Linked DNA regions of Homo sapiens: regions 2 and 3 are each linked to region 1. The links are contacts of gene promoters, found by promoter capture Hi-C in human tissues and cell types (Jung and others, 2019). All regions are on one chromosome and are shown on one strand. The core of a region is centred on a gene start or on the middle of the fragment in contact, and the rest is flanking DNA. Distances in the headings are between cores, read along the strand shown. Region 1 holds the start of ATCAY (ATCAY kinesin light chain interacting caytaxin). Region 2 overlaps EEF2 (eukaryotic translation elongation factor 2). Region 3 has its middle 9.3 kb from the start of MATK.

The links. Contacts are between HindIII fragments. The study calls those that stand out against the background at their distance.
Region 2: a contact is called between a fragment that was not itself captured here and the fragment with the promoter of ATCAY in region 1, in 4 of the 25 tissues and cell types used here (dorsolateral prefrontal cortex, heart right ventricle, lymphoblastoid cells and 1 more).
Region 3: a fragment that was not itself captured here is called in contact with the fragment with the promoter of ATCAY in region 1 in 5 of the 25 tissues and cell types used here (H1 embryonic stem cells, IMR-90 fibroblasts, dorsolateral prefrontal cortex and 2 more).

The regions. Positions count from the first base shown.
Region 1 is chr19:3,878,219-3,882,799 of GRCh38, forward strand. It overlaps ATCAY (ATCAY kinesin light chain interacting caytaxin), which reads left to right and starts at 2,467. Exons shown (of 13, transcript NM_033064.5): 1 at 2,467-2,790. RefSeq lists an enhancer at 2,142-2,672. The HindIII fragment of the contact is 15,458 bases long and covers 1-4,581 here.
Region 2 is chr19:3,978,616-3,983,196 of GRCh38, forward strand. It overlaps EEF2 (eukaryotic translation elongation factor 2), which reads right to left. Exons shown (of 15, transcript NM_001961.4): 3 at 4,495-4,581; 4 at 4,192-4,403; 5 at 3,631-3,809; 6 at 3,332-3,437; 7 at 2,724-2,837; 8 at 2,226-2,364; 9 at 1,899-2,094; 10 at 1,193-1,451; 11 at 714-821. SNORD37 (small nucleolar RNA, C/D box 37) reads right to left here and starts at 3,957; the gene lies at 3,892-3,957. RefSeq lists an enhancer at 2,858-3,709. The HindIII fragment of the contact is 5,039 bases long and covers 1-4,119 here.
Region 3 is chr19:3,793,351-3,797,931 of GRCh38, forward strand. It overlaps a transcript of MATK not described here. Among named protein-coding and RNA genes, the nearest start is that of MATK, 9.3 kb to the left of the region's middle. The HindIII fragment of the contact is 4,542 bases long and covers 238-4,581 here.

The DNA of each region.
Region 1 (4,581 bases), core at 1,217-3,716:
TGCTTCCCCATCAGGGCTTTCTGCCTCTGCTGTGGGCAGGTTACCTTTATGCCTCGGAAGAGTGCAGACCTCCATGCAGCGGGTGAGGCTGCCAGCCTAGGTGGGGTGTCATTGAATGTCATGAAGGGAGCCAGCCTTCATGCACTCTGCCTGCGTCTCCTGAACAGCTTTGGACCAGGAGTTGCTACCTTGTGCGGAGAACGTGTGGTGCATAAGAACAACCGAGCCTCTGCTCTTCGAAAATGTATATTCTGGCCAGGTGCGGTGGCTCACGCCTGTAATCCCAACACTTTGGGAGGCCAAGGTGGGCAGGTTGCCTGAGGTCAGGAGTTTAAGACCAGCCTGGCCAACATGGTGAAACCCCGTTTCTACCAAAAATAAAAAAAATAGCTGGGTGTGGTGGTGCATGCCTGTAGTCCCAGATGCTTGGGAGGCTGAGGCATGAGAATCGCTTGAACCTGAGAGGAGGAGGAGGTTGCGGTGAGCTGAGATCACACCACTGCACTCCAGCCTGGGAAACAGAGCAAGTCTCTGTCTCAAAACAAAACAAAACAAAACAAAACCCAGTATATTCTAATAAGGAGGAGCAGAGAATCAACAACAACAACAAAAAAGTGTAAATAATTTCAATTAATAGTAAGTGCTGTGGGTCAGGCACGGTGGCTCACACCTATAATCCCAACATTTTTCGAGGCTGAGATGAGAGGCTCACTTGAGCCCAAGAATTCAAGACCAGCCTGGGCAATAGAGAGATACCCTATTTCTACAAAAATTACACAGATTAGCAGGGCGTGGTGGTAGGAGCCTGTAGTCTCAACCACTGGAGAGAAAGAGGTGTAAGGATCACCTGAGCCCGGGAGTTCAAGACTGCAGCGAGCTGTGATTGTGCCATTGCACTCCAGCCTGGATGACAGGGAAAACTCCTGTTTCTTAAAAAAATAAGTAAATAAAATAAACATTAAAAACAGCAATAGCAAGAAATACATATAGGCCGAGCACAGTGATTCGCACCTCTAATCCCAGCACTTTGGGAGGCCAAGGTGGGCGGATCACCTGAAGTCAGGAGTTCGAGACCAGCCTGGCCAACATGTTGAAACCCCGCCTCTACTAAAAATACAAAAAAAAAATTAGCCAGGTGTGGTGGTGTGTGCCTGTAATCCCAGCTACTTGGGAGGCTGAGGGAGGAGAACCACTTGAACCTGGGAGTCGGAGGTTGCAGTGAGCCAAGATCGCACCACTGTACTCCAGCCTGGCAACAGAGCGAGACTCCACCTAAAAAAAAAAAAAAAAGAAAGAAAGAAAGAAAGAAAGAAAGAAAGAAAGAAAGAAAGAAAGAAAGAAAGAAAGAGAAAGAAACACATAGGGAGCTTTTCTTGTGCCCCAGCACTGTGTTTAGTGCTGTCTATGCATTATCTCATAATGTGGAAAAGCCATAGCGGCTCCATTTCACAGATGAGAAAAACTGAGGCCCGCAGGTGAGATCACTCATGCCCACTGGTCTGCCAGCTGGGGAGTGGCTGGGCTAGAGTTCAAACCCACTTCCAGTCCGACTGCACGGCCTGCACTCTCCACCCTACCATCTTCCACAGTCTCCTTGAATTCCTCCAGGGCGAGGCCACGCCAGCGCACAACTGCAGGGGGCGCCGTTCCCACAGCAGCCCTGCAAAGTGAGTGTGCCTGAGAAACTTCCGCCTCCCCTGCACCCAGCCCTGTTTAGGGCACGAGGCTGAATCAATGGTAAGTGACCATCTAATGGACCCACAACACGGTGACCTGGGGACAGTCATTTCTTTCTTTTTTTTTTTTTTTCTTTGAGACAGAGTCTCCCTCTGCCGCCCAGGCTGCAGTGCAGTGGCGCCATCTCGGCTCACTGCAACCTCCGCCTCCCAGGTTCAAGCGATTCTCCTGCCTCAGCCTCCCGAGTAGCTGGGATTACAGGCGCACGCCACCACGCCTGGCTAATTTTTGTATTTTCAGTAGAAACGGGGTTTCACCATGTTGGCCAGGCTGGTATCGAACTCCTGACTTCAGGTGATCCTCCCTCCTCGGCCTCCGAAAGTGCTGGGATTACAGGCGTGAGCCATGGCATCCGACCTGGGGACAGTCATTTCTTTGCCTGCACAGACTTTTTGGGGGATGCCACCCCTCACCCCTGCTCCCTTTGCAAGGAGAAGTGCCAAGAAGACCTTTCCCAACTCCCCCACCCCCCATTCTCTAAGGAATGAGGCCATCTTGCCATTTATTTATTTATTTGTCCGTTGTTTTGTTTTTAAATCTCTGATGCGCCATCAGAAAATTATTTCTGCCTCTGCCCCTGGCGTGGCTTTCGGAGATGCTTGTCTGTCAGCCAATGGGGAGGATCGGATTCTGGCAGGGGGCTGTGCTTTTCCGTCAGGCCGCCACCCCCCACCCCCTCCTCCCTGCACACAAAAGCAGCATAAATTAACCGTCTTCGGGAAGCCGAGCCTCTGCCAGCCCTGAGCTGGGAAGAAGCAGCTACCTCGGAGGCAGGGCGCGCAGGCGGGCGGCGATGAGAGGGGGCGCAGCCGCAGCCCCGCGCTGGGGAGCCCACCGCTAACCCTGCACCCCACCCACCCCTGCACAAAAGAGCTGGCGGGCGCTGGCCACGTCGCCCTGGGTGACCTTCCTCGGATGCAGAATCCGCCCCTGCGAGCATCCTCTTCCTCCTAGGCTCTGAAGGCCCGGGGAGCGTGAGCGATGCCCAGCTGCACCCGGGCAGGGCTCGCCTTTGTTTGCCAGTAAGGAGGAGAGGCTGTCTCAGCTGCAGAGGTGAGTGCGCGCATCTCCCCTTCTCCCAGGATAAACCGTCTCCCTGGAAGGTTTATCCGGCAGCCTTTGCCGCCTCTAAATCCCTTTCCAGCAGATGGGGCGGGTGGGAGCAGAGAGCCACGGTCTTGTGACTCCGTGAAGGCCCTCACATCCCTGTTCCCGGTACCAGGGAAAACCGTTCCCTGAGCTGCGCCCAGCAACACAGTTTACCTTCCGCGCGCACCGTTCCCCTCTAAGTGCACCATTTTCAGGACACGCTGAGAGCTCGGGCGGATGAAAACCTCAGCTTCTCTCTGGGACGCTGAAATAGACCCATCCTAGCCCTATGTATTTCCTATTTATAACGCTAGGAAGGCCACCAGCCGACGATTTCGGGAAAAAAAAAAAAAAAAAATCTAAGTGTGTCGATAAAGGCTGTCCTGTGGGGTGGGGAGGAAGGGGGTGGTTTATGGTTTAAGACACAGATGCCTCCTCCTTATTGGAACTCGTATGTGATTTGTTAATAATCAGACATCAGGGCTCAAATGAGCGCTTCACTCCCGTTCCTTGATGTCACTGTCTTCTTTTGGCCGTCCCCAAATGCGAAGCCAGGATCTGAGTGCAGGAGTGTCCGGGGCCCACTGAGGACCCACCCCACCCCATCCTTAGAAGACTGTGGAGTCAACGCCTGTGGCTGCAGCTGGCAGGGGGTGGGGGTCGGGGGCGGGGCTGGTGGGAGTGTTCCTGGGGGCTGAGGTCACACCCAGCTCAGTATAAGGAAGGGAGAGGCGAAGACCCCTTCCTCCGGAGAGCAAATGCGTTTCTACTGCCGAGGAGAACTTACCCTCGCGGGAAGGGCCTGGCTGGCTGCTGCCACCGCCCCCCCCCCGACCCCATAGCATCCAGGAGGGATTTTTTTTTTTTCCATGCTGCGTGTTACTGTCCCTCCTCCAAGCATGAATGACGACATTGAGGACAGAGAATCGAGTGAGAAACGCTCACCCTGTACGGGGGAGGGTCTAGTTTTAGCCGTCCCCTCCCCCCACTTCCTCATCTGGCTGAGGCTGCCTCTGGGTCCTTCCTTGCTAAGCCACAGTCCCCTGTCCCCGATGCAAACCCGATATCTATGCTGGGGGGCTGCAGGTAACCTACTCCACAGAGAGGCAGCCTGGATGCCATGAGAGTTGGGGGCCTTAGATGCTTCATGTATTTGGTTTTTTTGAGACAGGGTCTTGCTATCTTGCCCGGGCTGGTCTTAACCTCCTGTGCTCAGGCGATCCTCGCAAAGTGCTGGGATTACACGTGTGAGCCACTGCCCCCAGCCAGATGCTTTATCTTTTATTTTATTTTTTGAAGTAGGGTCTCTGTTGCTCAGGCTGGAAAGCAGTGGCATGATCATAGCTCACTGCAGTCTCGACCTCCTGGTCTCAAGCGATCCTCCAACTTCAGCCTCCTGAATAGCTGGGACTTCAGGCACCAGGCACCCATCACCATGTTTGGTTAATTTTTGTATTTTTTTTTTTTTAAGAGATGGGGACTTGCTATGTTGCCCAGGCTGGTCTTGACCTTCCAGGCTCAAGCGATCCTCCTATCTCAGCCTCCCAAAGTGCTGGGGATTACAGGTGTGAGCCACCGCACCAGCCAGATGCCTTATTTTATTTTATTTTATTTTCTGAAATAGAACCTCACTCTGTTGCTCAGGCTGGAATGTGGTGGCACAATCATACCTCACTGCAGCCTCCACCTCCTGGGCTCAGGCAATCCTCCCACCTCAGCCTCCTGAACAGCTGTGACTTCAGGCACCCACCAAAT
Region 2 (4,581 bases), core at 350-2,849, 100 kb after region 1:
TAACACGGTGAAACCCCGTCTCTACTAAAAATGCAAAAAATTAGCCGGGCATGATGGCAGGCGCCTGAAGTCCCAGCTACAGGAGGCTGAGGCAGGAGAATGGCGTGAACCTGGGAAGCAGAGCTTGCAGTGAGCCAAGATCACGCCATTGCACTCCAGCCTAAGCAACAGAGCAAGACTCTTGTCTCAAAAAAAAAAAAAAAAAAAAAAAAAAAATAGCCCTGGGCCAGGCATGGTGGCTCACACCTGTAATCCCAGCACTTTGGGAGGCCGAGGCAGGGGGATCACGAGGTCAGGAGATCGAGACCATCTTGACTTACTAACACAGTGAAACCCCGCCTCTACTAAAAATACAAAAAAAAATTAGCCGGGCGTGGTAGCACGCGCCTGTAGTCCCAGTTACTCAGGAAGCTGAGTGAGGCAAGAGAATCGCTTGAACCCGGGAGGTGGAGGTTCTAGCGAGCCAAGATCACGCCACTGCACTCCAGCCTGGATGACACAGCGAGACTATCTCAAAAAAAACAACAACAACAACAAAAACAGCCCCACATGCCTGTGGAAGACTGCAAAGAAGAAACTTGAGGAACTTAAGAAGCTGAGACCAAGACCGAGATCAAGTCTAGGCGTCTGCAGAGCCTAGCTCAGCTCAGCTTTAAAGCAGAGGGCAGGTGTCCGGGGTGGGGCGTGGGGAAGGCTGGTCACTGGCGCCTCACCTTGATGGGGATGCAGGCGTGGTCCTCCTCCAGGTCCTTCAGGCAGATCTCCAGGTGCAGCTCGCCGGCGCCCGCGATGATATGCTCTCCCGACTCCTCGATGATGCACTGAAAGGGATGCGGGTCAGCACCAAAGGGGTAGGCGGCTCGGAACAGGCGGGACCAGGCTCCCAGCTTCCCTTTAGCTAGGGACCCCGCCAGAACAAGATTTCAGGGAAGGTGCTGGGAAACTGGGACCAGCACAAACTCCTGAAGAAATGTTAAGTCCCACAAGCTACAGTGAACACGCGCAGAGCAGCCTAGGAGAGGGTGGTGGCTGCCTGGGCAGGAGTCTCCATTTACAGCCACAGCCAAGAACCCCTCCTTTCATGACCAGTCACCCCAATCCACCAACCACAGCAACCCACACAGCCACAACTCAGGACACAAGCCGTCCCCCCTCAGGGTGTCTGCTCCCAGCAGGTGCACTCCGTGCCCACCTGCACCATGGGGTCGGACTTGGCCAGCCGCTTCAGCCCCTCCACCAGCTTGGGCAGGTCAGCCGGGTTCTTGGCCTCCACGGCCACTCTGACAACAGGGCTGACGCTGAACTTCATCACCCGCATGTTGTGCGCGTGCTCGAAGGTGGTGATGGTGCCCGTCTTCACCAGGAACTGGTCCACGCCCACGAGGCCCACAATGTTCCCACAAGGCACATCCTCGATGGGCTCCACGTAGCGGCCCATCATCAAGATTGTTCTGGAAGAAGCAGAAGGCGGCAGCAGGCCGCAGGGATGGTTGTGCTGGACCCTGGAGGGCCAGGGCAGGTCCCTCCCGGAGTTGGTGGCCCTCCTGCCAGGTCCCAGGGCAGACTGGTGGCTTCCACAAGGCCCTGACTGCTGCGTCGGGGCTGTCAGGAAACATCCTCTTCAGAATCACTGCCCTCCTCCCTGGGTATGGGTCGACGGCCGCCACCCACCTGTGCCCAGGGACACAGATGAGCAGGGGTGTGCTGTGCCCTGGGGCTTGGAGCTTCTCCAGAAATGCCCTCACTGGGCTAAGAACAAAAGTTGTGGCTGGCACAAGTATCACCCTATATTCCTTCTATGCTCCTTACTTCTAGCTCCCGACTGAGGAGCCCAAGACTTGGAGCAGGGCAGGGCCCGCAACAGTGCCAAGGGGCCTGCACATCACCCAGCTGCTCACCTCTGGATTGGCTTCAGGTAGAGGTCCTCCTTCTTCCCAGGGGTATAGTTGGGCCCCATGATCCTGACCTTCAGGCCAGTGGAGACCAGCCCCGAGAAGACTCGTCCAAAGGCGTAGAACCGACCTTTGTCGGAGGTTGGCACCATTTTGGAAATATACATCATAAGAGGGCCTTTGGGGTCACAGCTTTTAATGCCTGAGGGACAGAGAAAACCCGCAAGCTTTATTCCAGTGCAGCTCAGCCTTCTGGAACCCTGCAACCCACAACCTTGGGCAACAGGAAGTCATCCGGCTGCATCTCAGGGCCCGGCCACCGGGACCACGTACCCATGGCAGCCTCGTCGTCCGGGGGCCCCTCGTACAGGAGCTCGCAGCGGTACTTCTGGGCCGTCACAGGGGAGGGCAGGTGGATGGTGATCATCTGCAACAAGGCGTCTCCGGCAGGCAGCCAGCGGCGCATCACAGCCTGCGGGGGCAGAGAGCGGTGCATGAGACACCTGGGGAGCCCAGGATGGCCCCACCCCGTACACGCTTCCTCTCTTGAAGCCAAGGAAGCCAAAGTCAGGACTAACGTTCTCCAAAGCACAGTCCCTTCTGGAAGGCGGCAAAGGCCATGCACACTCCTGCCAAGGCCCTCACCCACACCTGTCCCGGATGGGGCTGGCTGCTGGGATGTGTCTCCAGCAGCACCCAGAGTCTAAAGCGAAAGGGGCAGCAGCTGTCCCTGCCCAGCTGAGGACTTCAGCCCCCAGGCCTGGGCTGTCAGAGCATCCGGAAACAGCAGCCTGTGTTCCCTCCACCCCGAGGGCTGGGCCCAGGCCGCACCTTCAGCAGGGGTTTGCCTTCTTTGTCCTTGTCCTCGCTGTCCAGTTTGATGTCCAGTTTCTCTATCAGTTTTGCTGTCTCCTCTTTCTTGAAATTCATGATCGCATCAAACACCTACATTCCCCACCAAGAAACAAGAAAGCCCATTTGGGAACAGCAGGAGGAAGCCTGGCACTGCTTCCTGCTTGGAAGACTCAGGTCAGCGCAGGGGGACGCAGCACGGGAGCAGGAGCAGGCCTGGCCTGCCTACCACGGGCCCAGCCAGCTGAGCGGATCGGGAGCTGGAGGAAACCTCGTGGTGGAGCAGAGGAAAAAGCCCACTCTGACTCAGACAAGGACCCAAGTTCTGACTTACAAGCACTGAACCGCCAAAGCCACAAGTTATTCAACCCCCTCAATGCAGGAGAGGTCCCAAGGCTCTGGCTATGCAGTCCAGATCTTAAGAGAGGAGCCCTGACTCCACCTCAGTTAGGAGCTGTGCCTCCTCCCATCTCGCATCTGCCCCACAAGGAGACGGGCCCAGTCAGCCGACAGGCTACCGGCCGGAGCCCACAGGGCCGAGGGCCAATAGTCGCATCGGCGGGGTGCCTGGCGCAGCCCTCACTCACCTTGAAGATGGGGTCCAGGATCAGCTGGCAGAAGGTGCGTGGCAGCTTCTTCCCTTCGGGGCTGGTGGCTGACTTGCTGAACTTGCCGTTGGCTGGGTCAAAGTACCTGGCAAGGAGAGGCCAAGCCAAATCAAGTTAGGGTCTCCAGGGGATGACTTGGGGAGGGTGGTCGCCAAGGGGACATGCTTGGGCAAGACCTGGTGGGCTTGAGCCACGCTGTGAATAGCACACCACGCCCCTACGTCGCTGCCACTACCCCCAGGTGTCAGGAATCCCCCACCATATCCCGCGGGGCTCACCTGTCACCCCACAGCTTCTTCATCATGTCCTCTACTTTCTTGGCCCGCTCGGCAGGCCCCAACTGGCCCTCCCCCTTGGCGGCGAACTTGGCCACATACATCTCGGCAAACTGCTTCAGGGTGAAGGCCCACCCGTGGAGGCCAGACCCAAAGCCCACGGTACCGAGGACAGGATCGATCTGGAAGTGTGAGAAACGAGAAGCAGCCGTGAGGGCCCCTGCGCAGAGCCTGAAGCTACGGGCTGGGCGCCTTGGGCATGGGCCTCAGACGCAGGCTTTCTTCAGTAGACATCTGGTCAAAGTGAAGAAATGATCAGTCATCACGAATAGGGGGGCCAGCCCCTCCACCACCCAGGGCAGCGTTCCCTGAGCTCGTCTCTTCCAGCTGCCCAAAGATCAAGGGCTGGGTCAAGTCGGATGAAAACATTCCAGCCCCCTTCTCTGTCACCCAACATTCCTGGCAAAAACACACTTCCAGTCCCCCTCAGCTCAACTCCACTCCCCACCGGCTCCTGCAGATCCCGCTGCGGCAAGCCCACCACCCAGCTAGGGAGGGCCGTACCATGATGTTGCCCATGGGGCCGCTCTCGCCCTCGCCGTAGGTGGAGATGATGACGTTCACGTTCTCCACGATGCGCTGGAAAGTCTGGTAGAGCTCCTCGGGCTCCAGCTGCAGCTCCAGCAGGGCGCGGTCCATCTTGTTCATCATCAGCACAGGCTTGATGCGCTCGGCAATGGCCTGCCGCAGCACTGTCTCCGTCTGCACGCACACGCCTGGGGACACGGGGGACAGGGCGGCGCTGTCATCCTCAAGCAAGGATGGCCCCCGGTTCCAGGCCGTGCCTCAGGGGGACCCACTGCTTACCTGACACGCAGTCCACCACCACCAATGCGCCATCGGTGACTCGGAGGGCAGCAGTCACCTCCGAGGAGAAGTCGACATGCCCGGGGG
Region 3 (4,581 bases), core at 1,259-3,758, 85 kb before region 1:
AGGTCAGGAGTTCGAGACCAGTCTGACCAACATGGTGAAATCCCGTCTCTACTAAAAAAATACAAAAATTAGGCCAGGTGCGGTGGCTCATGCCTATAATCCCAGCACTTTGGGAGGCTGAGGAGGGTGGATCACGAGGTCAGGAGATCGAGATCATTCTGGCTAACATGGTGAAACCCCGTCTCTACTAAAAATATAAAAATTAGCCAGGTGTGGTGGCGGGTGCCTGTAGTCCCAGCTACTCGGGAGGCTGAGGCAGGAGAATGGCGTGAACCCGGGAGGCAGAGCTTGCACTGAGCGGAGATCACGCCACTGCACTCCAGCCTGGGCGACAGAGTGGAGACTCCATCTCAAGAAAAAAAAAAAAAATTAGCTGGGCGTGGTGGCATGTGCCTATAATCCCAGCTACTCGGGAAGCTGAGGCAGGAGAATCACTTAAACCTGGGAGGTGGAGGTTGCAATGAGCTGAGATCAGGCCACTGCATTCCAGCCTGGGTGATAGAGTGAGACTGTCAAAATAAATAAATAAAAAATAAATAAAATAAAAGCTTCCCATGGTTCCCACTAAGCTCAGTGTGCCTCCCGGTGCTTTGTCACCTCTGCGGTCCAGTGGCTGTCACCTCTCTGCTCCCAGCTTCTCCCTTGTCTCCCAAAAGCTCAGGCATGGGGCAGCCACAGGACCTTTGCACATGCTCTTCCTATCTCCTAGTACTACATCCTTCCCCCAGCTCTTCTCAAGGCCAGCTACTTCTCTGCACTTTCAGCTTCTCCAAGAGACCCTCCCTGGCCACCCCACAGTGGTCACCCTTAGTTACTCTCTATTGTCAAAGCCGGAATCCCCACCTGTTATCCTGTCTCACTCGTCATTGTCAATCTCCCTCCATCCTTGCTTCCCACGACAGAATATATCTTCCTAATGAGGGTAACGACCAGCCCTGGGCCCGGCAACCATTTAGGTCTGGAGCCTGGCACATAAAAGGCCCTTACAGAAGCAGATGAGAGGGTAAAGTCTGAGGAAGGAGGCCAGGCATGAAGGCTCACGCTTGCAATCCCAGCACTTTGGGAGGCTGAGGTGGGAGGATTGCTTGAGCCCTGCCATTGGAGACCAGTCTGGCCAACATAGTGAGACCCTGTCTCTACAAAAAATAAAATAAACTAGCTGGGTGTGGTGGTGTATGCCTGTAGTCCCAGCCACTCAGGAAGCTGAGGCAGGAGGATCACTTGAGCCCAGGAGGTTGAGGCTGCAGTCAGCTATGATTATGCTACTGCACTCCAGCCTGGGCAACAGAGCAAGACCCTGTCTCAAAAAAAGAAAAGAAAAGATCAAGTAAGGAGAACAGGAGATACACATTATTCCGGAATAAACCAGTCATGTCTACTCAAGAGCAGCCCCTAAGTCTCTCCTCCAGGATCCCTCTTCATCCTCTCATGACCTCATGCTCTAACTCAGGGCCCAGCAAACTGTCTCTCTAAAGGGCATGCTGGTCTCTGTCCCAACTACTCAGCTCTGCCATTTCAGGGACACCATAGATAACACAGAAGCCAAAGACCGTGGCTGCATTCCAATAAAACTTTATTTATGGACATGGACATTTGACTTTCATATTACTTTTCTTTTCTTTTGCTTTTTTTTTTTTTTTTTTTTGAGCTGGAGTCTCGCTCTGTTGCCCAGGCTGGAGTGCAGTGGCGTGATCTTGGCTCACTGCACGCTCCACCTCCCAGGTTCACACCATTGTCCTGCCTCAGTCTCCCATGTAGCTGGGACTACAGGCGCCCGCCACCACACCCGCCTAATTTTTTGCATTTTTAGTAGAGAAGGGATTTCATCGTGTTAGCCAGGATGGTCTCGATCTCCTGACCTCGTGATCCGCCCACCTCGGCCTCCCAAAGTGCTAGGATTATGGGCGTGAGCCACCAAGCCTGGCCTTTTTTTTTTTTTTGAGACAGAGTCTCACTCTGTTACCCAGGCTGGAATGCATTAACGTGATCTCGGCTCACTGCAACTTCTGCCTCCTGGGTTCAAGCAATTCTCATGTCTCAACCTCCCAAGTAGCTGGGATTACAGGCATGTGCCACCACACCCGGCTAATTTTTGTATTTTAGTAGAGATGGGTTTCATGTTGGCCAGGCTGGTCTTGAACTCCTGACCTTAGATGATCTGCCCACTTTGGCCTCCCAAAGTGCTGGGATTACAGATATGAGCCACCATGCCCGGCCTCATATGACTTTTCATATGTCATATAATATTGATTCCATTTTCCTCCAACTATTTACAAATGTAAAAAAACGATTTTAGCTGGAGGAGTTGTGCGGATACAGATGGCAGGTTGGACTTGGCCCTCAGACTGTAGTTTGCTCTCCGCTGCCTTCTCACAGTCTTTATTTTCTCATAAGTAGGTGCTTTTTTTTTTTTTTTTTTTTTTTTTTTTGAGATGGAATCTCACTGTTTCGTCCAGGCTGGAGTGCAGAGGCGTGATCTTGGCTCACTGCATCCTCCGCCTCCCAGGTTCAAGCTATTCTCCTGCCTCAGCCTCTTGAATAGCTAGGATTACAGGCACGCGCCATCACGCCTGGCTAATTTTTGTATTTTTAGTAGAGATGAGGTTTCACCATGTTGGCCAGGCTGGTCTCGAACTCCTGACCTCAAGTGATCTGCTTGCCTCGGCCTCCCAAAGTGCTGGGATTACACGTGTGAGCCACCAGCTGTATTTTTCAATCTGTTAAATTAAATGTGCTGATACTCATGGCATGTAATAAGCTCTCAAGAAGTGTTTAAAAAAATAAAACTCAAAATATATAAATAAAGCTCCTCAACTCAGCAATGAGCCTCTCAAGGGTAAGTATATTCTTGTTGGTATGAATAGCAGCTGATATTTATAGGGTGTTTTACTGTGTGCTGAAGACAAAGCAATATAATGTCCCACTCCTCAGGGGTTGCTGTTGCTGTTTTCAGGTATTTACCTCCATAGTTCCAAGTAATGTGTTTTACACATCCCTTGATTTATCAGTTGGATGTTGTCCATTGACTTCCTATTCCAGAAGGTCAAGATTTAGCTCTCTTAGGCATTCTGCTCCCCCAACAGTTAAATCACAATTTTTGCTTAAATGAAAATTCAGTGCTTATAGTATATATATTAATATAAATATTATTGACAGTGGAGCAATGTATACTAAGAACATTATTTTCTGGGACCTGCTTTTTTATTTCCCTGGAGTTAGTCATCGCCTTGGTTTTATGTGTCTGTGACTCTTTCCCCCAGCCTCTCCACCAGAACTGACATCTCCACTCAGGACTTTCTCCTACTGCCCAGCTGTGATCCTGGCCCCTCTCTTCTTCGGCACAAGGGGATTCTTAGATATAGCTCCTGTTTCTTGGGTGTGGGTCTCCCTGTTTCTTGGTTTGGTCCCTTGTTTTAGGAATGTGCTCCCCCTAGGGTTTCCAGAGAAAGTGTTTTCCTCCTACTCTCCTGGGTAATTAGAGGTTTGGCTGACAGTATTGTAGGTGGATACTTTTCTTTTGCCCAATGTTTTCCAGCTTCTAGTCTTGGGCAGCTGAATGATCAGAAGTTGTCCTGTTTCCTCATACTTTGCCTGTCCCATGGTTAATTTCTGTCTCTCTCTCTCTCTTTCTGGAAGCTTGTAGAATCTTCTTGTTCCCTACATCCTGCACTTTCACAGTGGTGGGTTTGGTGTGGGTCTGTTTTCAACCATTGTGCTGAGTACTTGGTGGGCTCTTTCCTGTGTTCTCTTCCTGGCAAACTTTCTTGAATGATATCATTGGTGATTTCTTCCACTTTGGTTTCTCTGGCGTGTTTGTGGAACACGTTATTGTCATAGGGTGGACTTCTTGGATTGATGTTTTCATTTTCTTGCCTACCTTCCCCCCCACCCCCCCACTTTCTACTTTTTCTTCCAACCCTTCTATTGACATTTTAATTTTGACTATTAATTTTTTTTTTTTTTTGAGACAGGGTCTCACTCTGTTGCTCAGGCTGGAGTGCAGTGGTGCAATCACAGCCCACTGCAGCCTCGACCTCCTGGGCTCAAGTGATCCTCCTGCCTCAGCCTCCCAAGTAGCTGGGACTACAGGTGCCTGCCACCATGCTGGCTAATTTTTTTGATTTTTAGTCTCACTATGTTTCCCAGGCTGGTTTCAAACTCCTGAGCTCAAACAATCTGCCTGCCTCAGCCTCCTGGAGTGTTGGGATTACAGGCATGCACCACCACACCCAGTGACTGTCAGAGTTTTAATTTCCAAGAGCTCTTTCTGGTTCTTTTACCGTTCCTCTTTAAAGGACAAACTTGGCTGTGTGTGGTGGCTCACGGAGCTCAGGAGTTTGAGACCAGCCTGGGCAACATAGTGAGACCCCAATCTCCAAATAATATGTAAATAAATAAAAGAATTTCTTGGCCCAGTGCAGTGGCTCACACCTGTAATCCCAGCACTTTAGGAGTCTGAGGCTGATGGGTCACCAGAGGTCAGGAGTTCGAGACCAGGCTGGCCAACATGGTGAAACCCCATCTCTACTAAATATACAAAAATTAGCCGGGCATGGTGGCTCATGCCTATAATCCCAGCTA